Regions from separate parts of the Homo sapiens genome. Here all the other regions are linked to region 1. Evidence: promoter capture Hi-C in human tissues and cell types (Jung and others, 2019). All regions are on one chromosome and are shown on one strand. Each heading gives the region's core, a stretch centred on a gene start or on the middle of the fragment in contact. The rest is flanking DNA. Distances are from core to core; before and after follow the strand shown.

What was found. Contacts are between HindIII fragments. The study calls those that stand out against the background at their distance.
Region 2: the fragment with the promoter of PKNOX1 here is called in contact with the fragment with the promoter of SUMO3 in region 1 in 1 of the 25 tissues and cell types used here (spleen).
Region 3: the fragment with the promoter of CSTB here is called in contact with the fragment with the promoter of SUMO3 in region 1 in 1 of the 25 tissues and cell types used here (dorsolateral prefrontal cortex).

The regions. Positions count from the first base shown.
Region 1 is chr21:44,815,769-44,819,718 of GRCh38, reverse strand. SUMO3 (small ubiquitin like modifier 3) reads left to right here and starts at 1,657. Exons shown (of 4, transcript NM_006936.3): 1 at 1,657-1,771. The coding sequence starts at 1,751. RefSeq lists silencers at 1,046-1,145, 1,166-1,745, 1,926-2,125 and an enhancer at 3,805-3,950. The HindIII fragment of the contact is 28,474 bases long and covers 1-3,950 here.
Region 2 is chr21:42,972,936-42,976,885 of GRCh38, reverse strand. It overlaps PKNOX1 (PBX/knotted 1 homeobox 1), which reads right to left and starts at 2,324. Exons shown (of 11, transcript NM_004571.5): 1 at 2,222-2,324. RefSeq lists an enhancer at 799-1,525 and silencers at 1,487-1,686, 1,827-2,146, 2,277-2,666, 2,977-3,136. The HindIII fragment of the contact is 23,812 bases long and covers 1-3,950 here.
Region 3 is chr21:43,774,832-43,777,557 of GRCh38, reverse strand. CSTB (cystatin B) reads left to right here and starts at 1,250. Exons shown (of 3, transcript NM_000100.4): 1 at 1,250-1,354. The coding sequence starts at 1,289. RefSeq lists a silencer at 672-1,671. The HindIII fragment of the contact is 5,981 bases long and covers 1-2,726 here.

The DNA of each region.
Region 1 (3,950 bases), core at 408-2,907:
CCTTATCCATGACTGTAGTCACGCATCACTTCGTGACACAGCAACTGGCGTAATTTCGAGCGGTAACACATTTGGGTTCTGTGTCTCATGATTTCTAAGCTGCGTGTTTCTCACTTCCACAACACTGAAGCGGGCTGCCGTCATCCACAGCCTGCCGGAGTTTAGTGTGTCTGTGCTACCTACGGTCGTGTTGTTTTATGATTAACGGTGTCTTGGAGTCGATAACTCTCTGAACCCTGCCTGCCCTAGGGCACTTCCAGGGCCAGCAATCTGTGGGCTCTGAGGCGCCACGTCCCCTCGGAAGGGGCTGGTTGCGGAGCCCCCTCCCAGGACCGTCTGAGCTGGCCACCCACCTCCACATCCTCTGCTGAGGCCCTGGGCTCCAGGTTCCAGAAGGAAGGGACCACACCTTATGACCTGCCTGGGACTGGGGCTGACTCTCAGACCCTCTCCCCGAAAGACTTCAGCAGCCTTCCCCCTCCTAAGTGGGGGCTCTAGCCAAGAAAGTGAATTTTTGAGTAGAAGACGGTTTGTGAAGTTATGGTCCATGAAGACTTGTCTCCATGGCTTTGCGACGTTGCTCAGTTGGCTGAGCCTTTCCCAGGCAGGACAGAAACGGCTCAGACGCTTAGGTTCAAATCCAGGCCCTGCCATTTCCCAGCTGAGCCTGAAGTGCGGCCTCCCCCGCCTTCGGCCGGGCTCACCATCAGATGAGACCTCCGCCACGCCCCGGCTGGCACCACCCGGGCACTCCTGAGGGACGCAGGGGTGTCCGCCCTCAGGTCCGTTCCATCCGAGGCCCTGGGATCACAGACATGGAGGCCGGGGCGGGCCAGGCACCCCAGGAATGGCGCCCGCAAGTCCGGGGAGGCCGTCCTGCCGGCCCAGCGCGTTTCCCGCGTCCACGAGGTCCCCGTTCCGCCGGCACTGGCGGCGTCCAGCCTGGGTTTGCCCGCGCTCGCCGACGTGGCGGCCTGGCCAAGCTCGGCGCCGCTCACCAGCGCTGACCTGGGGGTGGTTTGACCTCCCAGTGCCTCAGTTTCTTCACAGGTAAAACGGGTCTTCTTGAGGACGGGTGTGGAGGGCCCGGGGCAGCCCCGTAGGAGCGTTGGCCAAAGGAGCCCGGCCTGGGGCTGACAGGAAACCGCGGCGGCAGGGAGGCGGGTGGCGCCCCCAATCGTCTAGGGTGCTGGCCCGATTCGCGCGGCCCCCGCGGACGGGACCCCGCGGGCCGCCTTCTCCGCTCTGTCCGCGGCTCCTGAGAGGGAACGTCACCCCCAGCGTCCTCCCTCCTCCGCCCCAGGTCCCTGCGGCCATGGGCGGCGGCCCCGGCCTCACTTCCCGGCGCCCCAGGAACGCGGCCCCCAGGAAAGGAGTCGGGGCCCGGGCGACGCGGGGAGGCGGGCAAGGGTCCCCAGGGCCCGGGCTCCCCGTAAACGCTCCTGGCCCGCGCCCCACAGCGCCCTAGGGCTTCCGCGCCCGACGGGGTCGCGCGGGACCCGCCCCGTGACGCATCTCCAACCGCCCAGAGCCGCGGCCCGGCCTGCGCGCGCCCGACGCCCCGGGGAGCGCGCCTCGTGAACGCGCGCAGCCACGTGACCCCCGTGCCGGCCAACGGGTGCGCCGGGATTTGGGGGATAAAGCGCGGCCCCGCGCACAGTTGCGGCGGGAGAGCGGCGGGGCCGAGAGCGTGACTCGCCCGCTCCGCGCTGCTTCCCCCGCGCCGCCTCCCCGCGCCGCTCGCGCAGCCATGTCCGAGGAGAAGCCCAAGGTAAGCGCGGCGACCCCGCCTGCACGCGCGTCTATCGCGGGCGTCCCGCCCCCAGCCCGGCTCCGCCCCCACCCCGACTCCGCCCCGCGTCCCGCCCCTGACAGGCTCCGCCCCTCCCCGCCCTCTAGAGCCCCGCCCCTAAGTGGGCCCGCCCAAGGTGCGCCCCCTCTGCCCCCGCGAAGCGCGCTGTGCCGCGAGCTCCGCCCCCTCCGGGCCTGGCCACGCCTCCGCTCCACGCCCGTCTCCTCCCCAGCTGGGAAGGCGCGCGCCCAGCGCCTCCTTGAGCGCCCGGTGTCGGGCCCCGCGCTGCTGCTCCTGCAGAGCGCGGCGCCCTCGGATCCCGCCCCAGCAGTGTCCCCGAAGCGTCTTTGCGTGCTCCTCTCCTGAGTCATTGCTGGTTGGGGTCGCCCTCTCCCCCGGCATCGCCCTGGGTGCGGGATCCTGTGTCGAGTGCACGGAGTCGGCTCGGGAACAAGCGTCTGGGGTTACCCCCAAGGGGCGCGCTCTGAGGGGCCTGGCCCCTGTGAGCAGCACTGCCGTCCTTCCAGGGCGCCCATCGCGACCCCGGTATTCACCCACTTCTCCGCATCGTGTCCCGGCCATCGCGTCCCCCAGTGTGCGCCCACCCCTCTCCTTCGTGTCTCCCCAATCGTGCCCTCAGTGTGCACCTACTCCCACCCATCGCGCCCCGTGTGCACCCACCGCCTCCATCGCGTCCCCCGGTGTGCGCCCACCCCTCCCCATCGCGCCCCCCGGTGTACGCCCACGCCTCCCCATCACGCCCCCCATGGTGTGTACCCACTCCTCCCCATCATGCCACCTGGTGTGCGCCCACCCGTCCCCATCATCGCGTCCCTGGTGTGCGCCCACCCCTCCCTATTGCGTCGCCCTCTCCATCACACCCCCAGTGTGTGCTCACCCCTCCCCGTCGCGTCCCCCAGTGTGCGCCCACCCCTATCCATCGCGTCCCCCTTTCCATCACACCCCCAGTGTGCGTCCACCCCTCCCCATCACCCCCTCCACGATGTGCGCCCACCCCTCCCCATCACGCCCCCTATAGTGTGTGCCCACCCCTCCCTATCACGCCCCACGGTGTGCGCCCACTTCTCTGCATTGCGCCTCCCCCACCATGCGCGCCCACCCCTCCTTATCCAGCCTTGGGTGGGCTTTAGTCTCCCCCATTGCCATGCTGGGGTGTGCCTCCCTCCAGTCTCAGTCCTGGGGTATGCACCCTGCATTCAGGTGCACTGGCCATTCCTTCTCGGGAGGGTCTGTAGTCGCATTCTCCAGTGTTCATAAAAAGAGAACCTTTCCGAAGCCCTTGGTGTGCACTGTCGGCCTCTATGTTACATCCCAGTGGAAGATGACTAGAGCTGAAGGCTCTGTAAAGAGGCTGTCTCTGATACTGGCCTGGTCCTGGAGGTGACCACCCTCCCTTTACAGATGAGGGTGGAGGCTCAGTGCCAGACACTGGCGGGAAGTGGGATGGAACCGTCAGGAACCATGGTCGCGGCCTCTATGGAAGTCTGCACTCTGCTTGCTGTGGTCAGACTCCAGGGAAACCTGCCCTATCCAGATGGCATTTGGGGTGACCTTTGCTTTTTACATTTTGACTCCAGTGAAGTCAAAGTTCTCCCACTCTGGGGTTGTTTGAATATTTAAATACTTGTTAAAACTAGGTCAAATATAAATGTCCTTTATGTTTTTGTAGGTGGCTTCCTCTTAATGAAGAGTAAATGTAATAAAATACATATGATATTAATTTTCTCAGCAGTATTTACACTTAGCTCTGCCATGTGGTCAATCTCAGGCTCCAGTTCCGTTGAAAACACTTGTTTAATTCCAGAATGACTGAGTGGCTGCCACCTCACAGGCCCCGCTTCTGGTGGGTCCCCTCTGAGCCCATGTGGGAGCAGCTCTGCCCTCTGGGGCTCTGACGAAGGGGAAGAGGTGGACTCTGGGGCCCGGTGGTGCTGGAAAGAAGAGCTTTTAGGTCAGGCAGGAGAATGGTTCTGACTTCCCTGGATAGCTGAGGTGGAGGATTGACTGTAGCAAACTGAGGCCCATGTTTTTAGGGCTTCACTTTTTAACTCACGAGTTCACTTGCTTATTAGGAATTCACCAGGGGTCTGGGACAGATCGTCATTCTGTTTGGAGCAGAGGCACTGTGGCCGGCCCT
Region 2 (3,950 bases), core at 1,075-3,574, 1.8 Mb after region 1:
CCTCGCATGAATCTGGGCAAAGTAAACTGAAAACCTTCTGGAAAGAATCTGCCATTCTAGATGCCATTCATGATTCATGGAAGGAAGTCAAATAACATTAACAGGAGTTTGGAAGAAGTTGATTCTAACCCTTATGATGACTTGGAGGAGTTCAAGACTTCAGTGGAGGAAGGAACTGCAGATGTGGTGGAAATAATGAACAGTTGCTTCTTACGGATGAGCAAAGAAAGTGGTTTCTTGAAATGGAATTTATTCCTAGTGAAGACGCTGTGCACATTGTGGAAATGACAACAAAACATTTGGAATATCACATCAACTTAGTGGATAGCAGTGGCAGAGTTTGAGAATAGCCTCCAACTTTGAAAGAATTTTCACTGTGGTTAAAATGCTATCAAAACAGCATCACATGCTACAAAGAAGTCTTTCATGAAAGGAGGAGTCCATCAATGCAGTAAATTTCACTGTTGTCTTATTTTAAGTAACTGACACAGCCACCACCACCCTGATCAGTCAGCAGCCATCCACACTGAGGCCAGATTGTCAAAGTATAAAACAAGCAGGACTCACTAAAGGCTCAGATGATCATTAGTATTTTTAGCACTAAAATATTTTTTAATTAACGTAAGCACATTTTTATAGATATAATGCTTGCTATTGCACACTTTAAGTAGTATACTGTAATTACAACTTTCATATGCACTGAAAAACCTAAAACTGTTGCGTCACTTGCTTTACTGCAATACTTATTTTACTGCGGTGGTCTGGATTAGAACTCGAATTATCTGAGGTACGCCTGTGTACAAGGACAGGATTCACAAATCACTCTAAGTAAATTAAGCAGAGTGATGAAAGGCTCATTGGGGTCAGCCTGCCATCTTCCAAATTATGACTAAATGCAAGAGCATCACCAATAACTATACTGGCAGAGGTTCACATTTCACCTCGATTCTTCCTTATGTTTAGAGAAAGCCTATTTTTCAGTATGCCAGGAAAAATCATGAAAGTAGACCTAACTAAAGCTGGGGGTTTCTTTCATCCTGAAGAGGAACCACTTCCTAAGGAAAAATCATCTACTGTTTTAAAAAGCAAACTCTCGTAGAGTTGGAAGAGAACCCCACACACAGGTGGAACACCCCCCAGGGCTGCGGCCCCGCCGTGGCGCTCAGCCTGGCCTGCCCTGGGCCCGACCTCAGGACGCCGCCATTCCCGGACCCTCGGGCCTCCCGTCAGGAATCCGCCATCGGAACGGAGGCCCTAACTGGTCCCGTCGCAGAGCCACTGTCCAAATAAGGCATTTCGAGAGCCACGAGGATGACATAAAGCAGACTCCGCGTTTCTTCATTTTTCGTTAAGTGACACGATTTCCCTCACAAGGAAGGTGCAAACCCACAGGGCGCCCAGACCCTGCCCGGCACTTCCTGTCATCCATTACCACGACCCGTGTGACAGAAGCGGCTCTTCCCACCAATTCCCGGGACGCCGGAACCGCTTCCCCAGCACCCGGCCCCAAACACTGCCGTCAGCGAGCGGCCCTGGGCTGCTCCCGCGCCGGCGCCCGGCTGAGGGCCACGAGCCCCATCACGCCCACCGCCCCCAGGACCCCGACCCACCCGCTCGCCACGGCCGAGGCCGGGGCCGGGGTCGCGGCCGCCATCTTCCCGCCTGCGCCGCCGCGCGCCCCGCACCCTCCGAGCAGCCCCGCCGGCCCTGAGGACTCCGCGAGGCCGCGGACCCGACCGGCCCCACGCGCGCCGCCCGCCCCGGCCCCGCCCCGCCGCGCGCCCCCGACCCTCACGCCCGCCGCCCCGCCCGCGCCGGGCTCCGCGCGCCCCCGCCCCGCGCCGGGGCGCGCGCCGCACTCCGAAAGGGACGGTTAGGAGCGCGCGCTTCGATCAGGCCCAGCGCGGCGGCGGCGGCGCCTTCCAGAAATTTCCGCGTCCCTCAACCCACACTAAGAAACCAACTGGGCGCGCCCCCGCGCCGGTTGGGCTGAAGGCGCCCCCTCCCCCGCGGGTGCCCGCTCCCCTCCCCCACCCGCGCCCCCTCCCCGCCCCCTGCCCCGGGCGGCGGGTCAAATGCGGGCCCTCGAGGGCAGCGCCGGCCCTCCAGACCCGGGCGGCAGCGGCGGCGGCGGGCGGCGGCCGCGGGCCGGTGTGATTGATAGGGACGGCGGCGGCGAGAGCGGCGGCGGCGGCGGCGGAGCGGTTGAGTGACAGCTTACCTGGGTGCCAATCTTCATCACACTGACAAGCGGCTGCAGCAATCGGGACCCGCAGTGCCGCGCCCGCGTCCAACCGTCACGCCGACGCTGGGCCACGCGACACAGCCTCGCTCAATGGGAGGAGGGCGACGCCGACGCGCGCCGCATCAATATTCAGAGAGGGGGCGGGGCCTGCCGGAGACGGGCCCCGCCCCTCCCTGCGCGGCGGCGGGCGCGGGGCGGGGCCTGATCGCTGGGGGAGGAGAGCGAGGGCGGGAACCGGGCGGTGGCCGGCCCCGCCTCCAGCCCCGCCCGCACCCGGAGCTAGGCCGTGCCCCCAACCGGCCGCGCCCGAGCGCGAGGAGCTGTCTGCCCCGCCCCGAAGGCAGAGCCTCCCGCCTTATGACTATGCAGTAGGGGCGTGGCCTCAGCGCACGTCTTGCCCCCTCCGCGCCCTCGGTTGCCGCCCAGGAGAGGTGTGTGTAGCCGGGCGAAACCATTTGCCTCGAGCAGGCGGGGAGGGAGGGCTGTACCATCCGTAACCCCACCGCCGGGCGTCCCGTAGCCGAAGGCCTCCGTTCTGTGTGTGCCCGGTTTGAATGTAAGCCCGTGGGAGCCTCGCAGCCTTCCTCCCCAGGCTCTGGAGCCCGGGTGGGCCCGTCCTGGGCGGCACAGTGGATGCTCACGTGCCTCCCCCCCTGCGGCAGCGCGAGTGCTTAGCACCTGAGGCTTTACCCTGGGGGCTGTCTTCCCTCTGTGAGGACCCCAGCAAGGACTCATGATGTCCACAGGTGCTTAGGGGTGGCCTCTGGGCTACTTGGCCTCGCTTGACCACACCTTCCGGCCCAGGTGAGCCTTGCGGGTCTAGGTGACCAATGCGGCCTCCAGGTAAAGGGCACCTGCCTTAGGGGACGCCCACAAGTGTCTGCATTTCAAACTGCTTTGAAAGACCACCCTAACCGACCACTGCCACAATGTACCCACAAGTGCAGATGGTGGCTTTGGTCTCCAAGATGTAAGGAAAGGGCGACACATTCCCCACTGCGTAGGAAAGCACACGGTTTGCCTGACTGGCCTTCAATACTGCAGAAACATCCATTTATGCAGTGGCCCACCGAAGGCCATCAGTGCCTTGAGTCCATACACAGCGCGGGAAGGGCAGCTCTGTGGGCCCCCACTCCTCCCGGAAGGCAGACAGGCCCAGGACTGGAGCTGATTGCTAGAGGGAGCCTGGGGGTAGGTCTAGGCATGAACAGCTCGGAGGACATCCCTCCTGTGTCTTCAGAGCTCCACACCGCCAGGAGGTCTTGGCCAAGTGCTGTGCAGCTGCAGAGCCGCCTCTTTCAGAAAGATGGGAAGCAGCAGGGTGGGCAAGAGGGAGGCCCTGAGATACTTGCCCAAGGAGGGAAGTTCAAGGGGACAAAAAAAGCTCAGTATTCAAGACTGAGCATAATCTGCAGAGCCTAGTGCAAGATCCAGATGCAAGTGTCAATAGGTGTTGGAACAGAGAGACTCCACATGGGCTGGGTAAACTGAAGCTGAGACCTGCTGGGCCGCACCCCCCAGGAGTTAAGGCGTTCTTAGTAATCGGATGAGATAGGAGGTCGGAACAAGACACAGGTCACAAGGATCCTGCTGATAAAACAGGATGCAGTAAAGAAGCCGGCCAAATCCCACCAAAACCAAGATGGCGGGGAAAGTGACCTGTGGCCTTCCTCACTGCTGATTATACACTAATTATAATATATGA
Region 3 (2,726 bases), core at 1-2,500, 1.0 Mb after region 1:
TTCCAGCACTTTGGGAGCCCGAGGCAGGTGGATCACGAGGTCAGGAGTTCGAGACCAGCCTGGCCAATATGGTGAAACCCCGTCTCTACTAAAAACACAAAAATTAGCTGCGCATGAAGGCGCGCGCCTGTAGTCCCAGCTACTCGGGAGGCCGAGGCAGGAGAATGGTGTGAACCCCGGAGGCGGAGCTTGCAGTGAGCCGAGATTGCGCCACTGCACTCCAGCCTAGGCGACAGATCCAGACTCCGTCTCAAAAAAAAAAAAAAAAAGGCCGGGCGCAGTGGCTCACACCTGTAATCCCAGCACTTTGGGAGGCCAAGGCGGGTGGATCACAAGGTCAGGAGATCGAGACCATCCTGGCTAACACAGTGAAACCCCGTCTCTACTAAAAATACAAAAATTAGCCAGGTGTGGTGGCGGGCGCCTGTAGTCCCAGCTACTCGGGAGGCTGAGGCAGGAGAATGGCGTGAACCCGGGAGGCGGAGCCTGCAGTAAGCCGAGATCGCGCCACTGCACTCCAGCCTGGGAGACAGAGCGAGACTCCGTCTCAAAAAAAAAAAAAAAAAAAAAAAAAGAAAAGAAAAGGAAAGAAAGAAAAGAAATCCTAAAACGCAAATTCCACCAGAGAACCCTGCCTTCTTCTCATCCCTCTGATCTACCCCCTGCCCCCACCCAGCCTGGAGCGCGTGGGCGCCGTCTCCCCCTCCCTGGGCCCCTCTGTCCACCCCCTTCAGCCTTCAGTGTTCTCGGTCACAAGCGGTGATGTCCACTGCAGCCCGCACACCTGCTCCCGCGGGGCCGGGACCCCTGACCCCTGACCCCTGCAGCGCTGCGCCCCGCCCTCCCTCGTGCGCGGCCCGGACCCCGCCACCCTGCAGGATTGCGCCTACTCCGACTGCCCCTTCCCTATCGTCCCACCCTGCGCGCCCAACCCACCGGCGACACCCGGCCGCGCCCCCGCCCCGGTCCGTGTGACTCGGCGCCCGGAAAGACGATACCAGCCCCGGGAGGGGGGCGCTCCCTCCCGACACCAGCGCTGGGCGCGGAGACCCAGCCTGCGGCGAGTGGTGGCCAGGTTCCCCGCCCCGCGCCCCGCCCCGCGCCCCGCCCCGCGCGTCCCTTCTTGCGGGGCCACCGCGACCCCGCAGGGGACTCCGAAGCCAAAGTGCCTCCTCCCCGCCCCTTGGTTCCGCCCGCGCGTCACGTGACCCCAGCGCCTACTTGGGCTGAGGAGCCGCCGCGTCCCCTCGCCGAGTCCCCTCGCCAGATTCCCTCCGTCGCCGCCAAGATGATGTGCGGGGCGCCCTCCGCCACGCAGCCGGCCACCGCCGAGACCCAGCACATCGCCGACCAGGTGGGTGGGCCGCGGGGACGGGGCCGGCCCGGAGTCCTGCCTTAGCCTCAGGGCGCGGCCGCGGCTCCTGGAGCGAAAGAAGCCGCTTTGGCCCCGCTGCGCACCCCTGGGCTGGCCCGGGCTGTGGCCGTGAGAGGCCTCCCTCCGCTCGGGCGCTGCGCGCGAGTGAGCAGCGGGGGGCCGCGCCTGGGGCGCCGCTGGGGAGACATTGGGCTCCGCTGAATACAGCAAGGGCGAGTGGGAATTGATAGCCCGGAGCAGGGTGCGGTCCCTGCATGGACAGTCTCTGAGAGGAAACCCCAGGGATGAGGCGCTTCTGGTTTCAGGCAGGCAGGGTGATCGGGCGTCGCCGGCGATGGCGCAGGTGAGCAGCCGGCTCCGATCTCCACGGTGATCCGATAGCAAGCGGGTGGGAAGGGTCTGGCTAAACTGACTTAGCCAGGCTTCTTGCTAAAAGTGGATTTTACAAGGAAGTGCGCAGGTGGCCTAGGCGCTTCAGGAGCCCGACTACAGTTTGGCCAAGCAAGAATCTTTGTCAATATCCTCATCTAGTTCGGGAAAAAAATCATGAGAGAGAGTGCAAGAGGTCCCCAGTGATAAGGCACATGGGTTAAAAACTTAAGTGTATCTGCATAAAAGGTCCACAGGTTTCTTTACATGCTTCCGATTCTAGCACTGTTTCAAACTGTAAGTCTAAATAAAAAGTTAAAACACAGAAAAACAAGATAAAAACCGGGCTGGGTTGCAGATGGCAACCTTCCCTGTGTCTCGGTTTCCTCGTCTGTAAAATGGACGTCCTGTTGCTCTGCGCCTGCCAGAAGATTCTGGAGGGGCTGAAATGAGCAGGTCATCTGTGCAAGAAGCCCCCTCCGGTGGAGCACAGGCCAGGCCCGCCTCGCTGTCATGGTTGGTGACCGACGGGATGCCCCAAGCAAGAACAGGTCCAGGCGATGCTGAGGCCTGTGTTTTTTTTTTTTGTTTTTGAGACTCAGTCTCACTCTTGCCCAGGGTGGAGTGCAGTGGCACAATCTCGGCCCACTGCAACCTCCGCTTCCCAGGTTCAAGGGATTCTCCTGCCTTAGCCTCCCGAGTAGCTGGGATTGCAGGTGCTCGCCACCACGCCCAGCTAATTTTTGTATTTTTAGTAGAAACGGGGTTTTGCCATTTGGCTAGGCTGGTCTCAAACTCCTGACCTCAAGTGATCCGCCCACCTCAGCCTCCCAAAGTTCTGGGATTACATCCTTGAGCCACCGTACCCAGCTGGAACTGTTTTTTTCTACTTTATTATTAGGCTGACAGTTTAAATGTCCCTTCAGTTGTAAGAGACAATTGTGTGAAGAGCCAGTGTCAGAATCGTGTGTGTGCTCACATG